3 separate regions of the Homo sapiens genome follow, and regions 1 and 3 are each linked to region 2. Evidence: promoter capture Hi-C in 16 types of primary human blood cells and fetal thymus (Javierre and others, 2016). All regions are on one chromosome and are shown on one strand. The core of a region is centred on a gene start or on the middle of the fragment in contact, and the rest is flanking DNA. Distances in the headings are between cores, read along the strand shown.

What was found. Contacts are between HindIII fragments. The CHiCAGO score rates a contact against its expected background, and 5 or more counts as called.
Region 1: the fragment with the promoter of VAMP4 here is called in contact with the fragment with the promoter of KLHL20 in region 2 in 2 of 17 cell types (naive CD8 T cells and total CD4 T cells); the score reaches 10.2 in naive CD8 T cells.
Region 3: a fragment that was not itself captured here is called in contact with the fragment with the promoter of KLHL20 in region 2 in 2 of 17 cell types (naive CD8 T cells and total CD4 T cells); the score reaches 5.3 in naive CD8 T cells.

The regions. Positions count from the first base shown.
Region 1 is chr1:171,740,704-171,743,403 of GRCh38, reverse strand. It overlaps VAMP4 (vesicle associated membrane protein 4), which reads left to right and starts at 1,339. Exons shown (of 8, transcript NM_003762.5): 1 at 1,339-1,494. The HindIII fragment of the contact is 4,907 bases long and covers 170-2,700 here.
Region 2 is chr1:173,713,654-173,716,353 of GRCh38, reverse strand. It overlaps KLHL20 (kelch like family member 20), which reads right to left and starts at 1,373. Exons shown (of 12, transcript NM_014458.4): 1 at 1,276-1,373; 2 at 288-351. The coding sequence starts at 310. It also overlaps a transcript of ANKRD45 not described here. RefSeq lists enhancers at 830-1,199, 1,280-1,469. The HindIII fragment of the contact is 9,904 bases long and covers 1-2,700 here.
Region 3 is chr1:172,534,076-172,536,775 of GRCh38, reverse strand. All of the region lies in intron 1 of SUCO (SUN domain containing ossification factor), which reads right to left. Among named protein-coding and RNA genes, the nearest start is that of SUCO, 2.3 kb to the right of the region's middle. The HindIII fragment of the contact is 1,442 bases long and covers 567-2,008 here.

The DNA of each region.
Region 1 (2,700 bases), core at 90-2,589, 2.0 Mb after region 2:
TCCAAGTTGCTGACTTGGACAGCAACTTGGACTGAATAAACACAGGCAACTGAGTTTAGCATTAAGCTTTCAGAACCTTCAACTGACAACTCAACGGCTGTTTCTAAATCTCAGAACATTTAAATCAGAATCTAGGTAGCACGTGGGCACCTACGTAGTTTTAAAAGCTTTCCAAGTGATTCAACTCCAAGTGAATCAGAGTGGAGCATCGTTGCCTTAGTCATGGCATCTTTCAAATTCGTTAGTACATTTTTACATAAAAATAAACATCAAACAAAAGAAGAACAACTTTTTGGTAAGAGGGTGTCTATTCTTTCCTTTCCTTTAGTGTCCGCAGATCTTTCCTCCTGCTGTTTTCTTGTCTACTCTTGTTCTTGAACACCCCCTCTTATTTTTATGTCTTTAGAAAGTGCCTGGCACAGTATTTCAGACAGTTAAAATACTGTATCAACAAAGGACCCATAGATACTGTATTAATTTTAAAAGATGTGTAGTGAATATGATTCAATGAGTAAAATAATCCAGCTGGGGCGTGGGAGGAACGGATAATAAAACAAATAAGAGAACGGAAAAACAAAATTAGGAATTGTTTCTGGTAGACAGCTACTGCGGGCGTGGAGATCTAAACATGATACCAAATTGGGCGGAGGGGGAGGGAGTGAGGAAGGAATGGGCAGAGTGGCGGAATGGCCTGGCGAGGGCGATTTCCTGAAGGCTTTCAGGTTACAACTAAGGGATACCGGGAAAAGAACACCGAGCCCTCGTCCCGTATCTATCTAAACTAGCCGTGTTAACTTTAAGTCAATCTCCTCTCTGAACCAGATATTCCTCCTATCTAAAGGGAGGAGCCTGGCCTTAACATCTCTTTCCAAGTCTAGCTCTAATTCTGTAAACAGGGGATCAAACAGATCTCCTTTCTTCAGAAAAGGCCCCAGACGAACCCGAAGCAGGTCCTCGAGCTGCGAGCCACTCTCCACTTGCCACTCAACGTAGTCAGCCAGAGGGACGGATGTGCCACCAAGCACCACCTTCTTTCTAACGCCTCATCACCCCAGCCACGCACTCCGGCGCGGCGCCCAGTCCCGAGCGGTTCTCGGAAGTTTCCCACTCCTCCCCTAATCGCCCTCCACGCACGCCGGATCACGACCGGAACGTGGACAACCAGTGGTTGTTCCTCCCCTAAAGCACAGCATAAATTTGGAGAGATGCATCTAAACTGCGTGTGGGTTCGGGCTCTTTTAGGTGAATAGGGCTCGGCGGATCGACTTCCTCGATTATCTCCGTGCCCTGGACCCGCCCCCTCCGCCTGGCGCCAGGCCGCCGAGCGCCGATCGGCTCGATGAGCGGAGGCGCTGCTGCGGCGCTGCGGCCGACGCCGGGTCCGCACCAACTGTCTCCCCCTCCCAGCTTCTTACCTCGGCTTCCTACTCCTTCCCCCGCCCGCCCAGCACCGCCAGCCCGGGAGAGCTGCCGGGAGTTCCCCGGGAGCCTCAGGTACTGGCGCTGGCCTGTTCGCAGCGGGAGGGGCTGGTGTGAGGAGGAAGGAAACGAAGAAGACGCCCCTGCCTTGCCGCCCCCCGACGTCCTAGTCGGGCTGGTCGGCGGGCCTCGGGGATCTAGGAAGGGACCCCGGAGTGGGAAAAGGTTGGGGCCGGGGGTGCCGTGAGGAAGGAAGACGAGGACAGGGGTATGCGGACGAGGAGCAGTTGAGGGAGAGAAGAATTGGAATTGAGGGGTACTCTGGGGTGATGGGAAGAGAACAGTACCATGGATGGGGAAGGTTTGTTAAGAGTGGGATGTAGTGAGGAATTCCAGGGGGTACAATGGGGCAGGAAGGGCCAGCGTTAGGAGCAGATATATCGTGGGACGTGGCCTGGTGTGACAGATTGGGTGTGGGGGGTGAACGGAGCTGCCTGAAATTGTGTATTTAAAGGGCCCGGGGGAAAGAGCGCCAACCCTGCTGTGTTTATAATGACCGGAAGGTGGGGGTGAATCGTTACACTTGACAGGTTTTGCAAATAATATCTCCGGTCTGTGTCCATCCAAGTCACTTTATTTCTGTGAAACTGCATCAAGCAAGAAGGCTGATGACAGACAAGGAAGACGAATCAGAAAGAGAATGGAGGCTGGGAAAAGGAGAGCCTTTGCCCAGATTCAAAGCTATTGACTAGATAACGTACTACTTACAAAAACGCACACATAGACATTTAAGTATATGCTGATGTATAAGAAGCATACGGTGATGTGACTCATTTGAGTGAATTGTATAGTGGTGGTCTATCCTCAATGTGGAAGTACATGATGGCTCTCTTATTTACATGTATACCTAGTCACAAACAGCTGAATTCACATGTCTTTTTTTGTAGGAGAAATCTTAGGCAGACTATATCCTAGTCTACTTTCTGAGCATGATTTATTTCTACTAGTTGTTTGATACACATATCAGTTACTAATAATCAGTTGCAAATAACATCAAAGTTCATCAAGGTAGCTAATTAATCTGCCTACTGCTTTGCTGATGGGCTATTTGTTGCACATGGTTTCTTGGGATTAAGAGACCTGAATATGGTGTTTGCTCATCCTTAAGATTGTAGTTTTACTGTATGTCTTATAAAGGCATTATATAAGTCTGCCCGTTGTTTGCTTTGGGATGTTGAGGCAGCCTCATTGCAGGGGTTAAAATCTAAATACAGATAATAG
Region 2 (2,700 bases), core at 124-2,623:
ATAGTATCATAATGAACTTAATGATTATTTACTGTAAAAAACATGAAAAAAGGAAAATTTAAGTGTTTAGCACTACATACAATCCACAGCACTTTTCAGAAACAACTTCTGTATTTTATTCTATTAAAAAGCTATTAATTCTTAATATTACTTTTGATTTATTGTAGAACAAGACTCATTAGTTCCAAGCAGAATTTAGTAAGATTGAAACTCTTTTTTAAAAATTTAAATTATTACATGCTGAATTTTAATCAGTGAAACCAAAGGTTTTCTTCCTAAATGCCTACCTGCGCATTGGCTTTCCTTCCATGCACCATGAAAAGTACCCTTCACCACACTCTAAAGCCGAACCTAAGACAACAGAAAAGCAGGAACTTAATAAAAGCTATTTCTGATCTTTACAGTAACAATCTTTATATAATCATTTCACTCATTTCGTCAGTTATCAAGAGTTTCATATCCTATTATACCACAGGCCTTCTGCAGATGCACAATAACTTAATCTAGTACATTTAAGATTACCATCCTTACTCTGCATGCTAAAACGATTAAAGTAAAGGTGAGGGAAAGTATGCTAAATAGTCCCGACTGTTAGGTCAGTCTTGTTTCTCTTCAAAAAGTGCTTGGAGATATTTAACTGTGATCTCGACATCAAGTATATTTACAGAACAAGCACCAGATACCCACAGCAGTACTAACCTGATAGATCACATAGGGTACACGAGGCTTTAATAACGAATCTGAAGATTGTTAACTTGTCCCGAAGTGACAGGAGGAGGAGGCGTCTGCATTTGCCTTTACAAACAACTCCGCTTCCGACAGTCCAGGGAGCTTGAACAGGGCAGGGAAAGTATGGCTCCAGACTAACACTCTTTACAAGCATTTCCTTCAGTCCCCGATACAATGTTCACTACCCACGTAGCAGGATTTCGCCAGGTCCCGAGGGTTAAATGGGGGCGCACGTACTTTCTTCCTTCCCTGAATTCCAAACACTGTCTGGGGAAGCTGTCCAGGATGCGAAACCCCAGCACCACCAGGCAGGACAAAGCCCGGGGCCTCCTCTGGCTCCCGAGATAGGCTGTCAGCCAGCGAGAGCGCACTCTGGCGCTCCGCGAGGCCCGGCCCCAGCGCCCCAACAGTCTCTTCTCGGCGCCGACTGACAGGCGACCGACCTGACCCCATGGGGCAGCTCAGCAACTTGGGACCACATATCTGCGAAGCGAGCCCTGGGGCGCTGTCCGCTGTCCCCTGCTCTAAGGTGACTGGCTCACTTACCGGCTCTGACACTTTCTTCTCTGCAGCAGCCTCCTCCGTCTACTCCGCCCTCCACTCCTCTCTGCCTCCTCCTCCACCGCCGCTAACGCAGGCAGGATGCCGCTCGTAGAGCTATTTCCTTTCCCTTCACCGGCCCATATCCAGAAGCAGGAAGTAGTCCTATTCTTAAATCGTTCCCGCAGGAACCCACATAATCCGCCAAGGGGTTCCGGTGCGGCTCCGGAAGTAGTCGTGCCCTTTGCTGGGGCATTCAGGTAACCTCAGAGGTTGTTTATCCTCGTGGGGGTTCCTTGTATCCCAAGAGTAACCATTTTTAGAATTCACTGCGGAACTGGCAGTATTTGAATACTGAAGCCTCCTCTTTTCTTCTTTGTTTTCGCCAGCAAAGGCAGTAAAGGGTAGTCACAGAAAGCTAAGAATTTGTATTTCTTTTTAGTTGGTGGGTCTCCTTTTGGCACAATGTTCCTAATTGTGGATTGAATTATTGCATGCACACATGGGTTGGCATGTATCTGTCAGGCCTCTACTATGTGCAAGGTGCAGAAGTTAGATAGACAGACCAGAGATAGACCTTATCCTCCAGATTTCCCACGGTCAAACTTTCAGGACACCAGGATTTTATCCAGGCTCTAAGGCTGTGTTAGTCTGCCCTTTCTACTTAGTATTCACCACCAGACACTTCACCAAACACATCTTCTGTGGATTCACTTTAATGTTAAGGAGGGAAGAGTATATTTTCTTAAAAAAATTTTTTTTCAGTAGCAAGCAGAGCCAAAAAAGTATATTTTTAAAATTATCTTTTCCTCCAGATTTTCCCATAGCACACAGCCACCTGATTTTTACCGTATATTAATATTTAGAAAACAAGTGATACAAGTGTAAGGTGGGGATTACAATTTCAGGAATATCAGAGAAAGACTGTTGCTGATTTCCTGGTAAGTATACTAGGCTAAGTATTAACCAGATTTTCTTTAGCTGTTCTTTATGTAGAATCTACACAGGTGTGTCCAGTTGTTTCTGAGGGGAAAGGATACCTCTTGTTAATTAGCTTGTAGTGGAAAATACATGGCCTTTAGATCCAGATATAGTGGCCCAGTGGATTCTTCTTGCCTGCTGCCCAGATACAGATGATTTATCAAGGTATAGGGATTGCAATGGAGAAAGAGTTTTACACAACATCGAGTGGAAAAATGGAAGAAGTTTTATTATTACTCAAATCAGTTATATTATTACTCAAATCGGCCTCCTGGAGCATTTGGGGGCTAGGTTTCTTTTCAAAGGTAGTCTGGGGAAAGGGGTAGGGGTGGCTAGGCAATGGGTGCTTGCTGCTGACTGGTGCAGTCATAGGGGTATGGGAGATGGTCCTCCTGCCTACTGAGTTGTTTCTGGGTGGAGCCACAGGAACAGTTGGTGGGTCCAGGTGGA
Region 3 (2,700 bases), core at 38-2,537, 1.2 Mb after region 2:
TCAGAGCCTCCAAAAAGAACGAGCCCAGTTGACATCTTAACTTTATTTAGCCCTGTGAGACATATCTTGGACTTCTCATCCACAGAATTGTAAGGTAATAAATGTGTGTTGTTCAAGCCACTAAATTTGTGTCAATTTGCTACAGCAGGCATAAGAAACTAATGCAGGGAATTCCTAGGTTATGCGACTTCCAGTGTTAAAACCAAGACAAGCTGGTGACCCTCTATCTTGGATTTTCGGTGCTCATAAAAACATCTGGCACAGTAGGTATGAGAACAAAATGTGGTTGAATAATGTTATGATGAAATATTTACATAATACGCTGTTACTGTGTTACAAAGATCTGTCATTTGTATTATTTCATCCTCCTAACAACCCTGTGAAGTATGAATGGATCAATTTCCCCATTCTGAGGATATAACAACTAAGGTTCAAAGAAGTTACATAACAAGTCAAAGAACACATATCTAGTAAATGATGGAGCCACATATATAAAATACAGGCCTCTGACCTATAAAGTACTCAGGAGCCTGTGCTGCCTAGGTTCAAATTTAAGCTCCGAAGCTTAACAGCTGCTTAAACTTAGCCAAGTTAACCTCTCTACTTCCTCACATGTAAAATGCAAAAGGAAGTTAATAATAATACCTATCTTATAGGGTTCTTATAAAGATTAAAGGTGTTATTGTCAAGTAAACATCATGTGTCTGACACACAGCTGTCAGCAAATATTAGCTATCATTGCTCTGTGCTGCAGCTATAGTGCATTTATGCCTAGAATACTCTATACTACTTGATCAAAAATTATAAACTATGCAAAAGGAAAAAACAGCAACAAAAATTAATAATGACATAGATGAAATGGTTTTTCTGTAAACATAATCTAAGGTTAGTACTCAAGGCTACAAGACAAAAGCAGAGGGGAGACATAATCAAGATCTACAAAATTATGATAGTAAACATAACACAGTAATATTGGTAGCATGAGAGGGGAAACCTCAGAAACTAGAATACTGTAGAACAGACATACAGCACTCAATGTACAAAACAGAAACGGATCACAAAATTTTGAGACAATTTGTGAATAACAAAAGAGACAAAAGTGGCTACTAAAAGGCACTCATCAACTCTTGCAAACGTTTTATCTAACCCTAGGACTTGTTGGTAGCCATTTCTGTTAAAGGGAATGAGGTTGTTGGGAAAAGAAATACCACACCAGATTGCAGCAAAAGTTAGAAATCCATTAAGTGCCATTAATTCCAACTTGGCACAAAAGCAGAGGCTTCAAAGAAAAAACATACCCTTTGCCAATCAGCACCAGGTACCACTCCTCTTCCCCAATCTCATTCATCATCATCACCCTTTAAAAAACCCTTTAAGCCTTAATGTCCTATTTTAATGCCTTTTAATCGTTTTGCTAAAGAATAATTAAAATGTCTCTAAATTTGGCAGTCTAAACAAATCTCAAAATATACTAACCCAATAGTTTCTTAAGCTAAAGTTTCTTAAAATGTTCACACTCTTAAACTCTCCACATCCATTTTCCTCACTAGGAGTTAAAAAACTTGACAGAAGTTTATTACTACTACTTTCAATACCAGGCCAACCGATTTGTTCCCTAACAGGGAAATTCATTAGCTCTTCACTAGAGCTAATGATTGAAGGTGAGAAAACATACTGAGGGTTAGCTTAATCAAAAGATAGCCAGAAATTCCCAAAAGAAATAGAAGCAGAGTTAACTTAAATTTACAAATGATTGTAAGAATCACATTCTATTGCTTGATTTCGTTTACACCATCCAATTAAAAAATTAAAAAAAGCCAGAGATACTGGTGTGTTTTTAAACTTGAATGAAAGTGTTCACCTTTTCCTTATTAGCCATTTCAGAAACTTTTGATGATGAATAACATGGTTTAAAGATGGGCAAGACCAAGAAGAAAGAGGAAAGAAAATACACAGTCTACAAATATAACTAGGCAGCCCCAGAAAGAGATGGAAATGAATACAAGCTTCAGTATCTACAAATTTAAATTTAAAATGAGGTGAGTGGATTTATCTCTTACAGGCACTTCTCCGTACCCAACACAGTAAGTAGAAAGGGGAGGATTTTATTAAAAACAGGAGACGGGTATTAAAAGGATTCAGAATGAAAGGTAATAAGTCAATTGTTTTTGTTCTCAAAAACTTCTATCATTCTTCCAATAAAAATCCCTCAGCCAGGCGAGTGTTTTCTCTTCCCCTTGTTTATGTATTATTTTATGTGAGCAACAACTCTACAATTTCAGTGCTTCTGGAATCCATAAGGCATCCATAAAAATGAAAATAGTGTTGGTGCTTTGCAGAAATAAGCAAAACAGGAAACTTAATTTCTATTTTAATATAACAAACAGCAAATCGCCTAGACTGAAGAAGCATCTTTTCAGTCATCAATTGTCACACATCTTTGAAGAAATTCCCTGGGAGGAAAGAATGGCTTTTCCAAGTACGGTGACAGCAGTCCCTCGACTTACAAGCTTTCTCTGCTCCTCAAAAAACTCCAGAAGTGCCTGGGATTAACAGAAACTCCGTAAAACTTAAGGAGTGCTTTAGGGACAAAGCACTCTTCCCGCCTTGAAAATACAGCATTTACCTTCCCGTCACTAAGGGGCATTACCAAAAACTACTACACACACTACATCTAAGACACCCTCTCCACCAAACCAA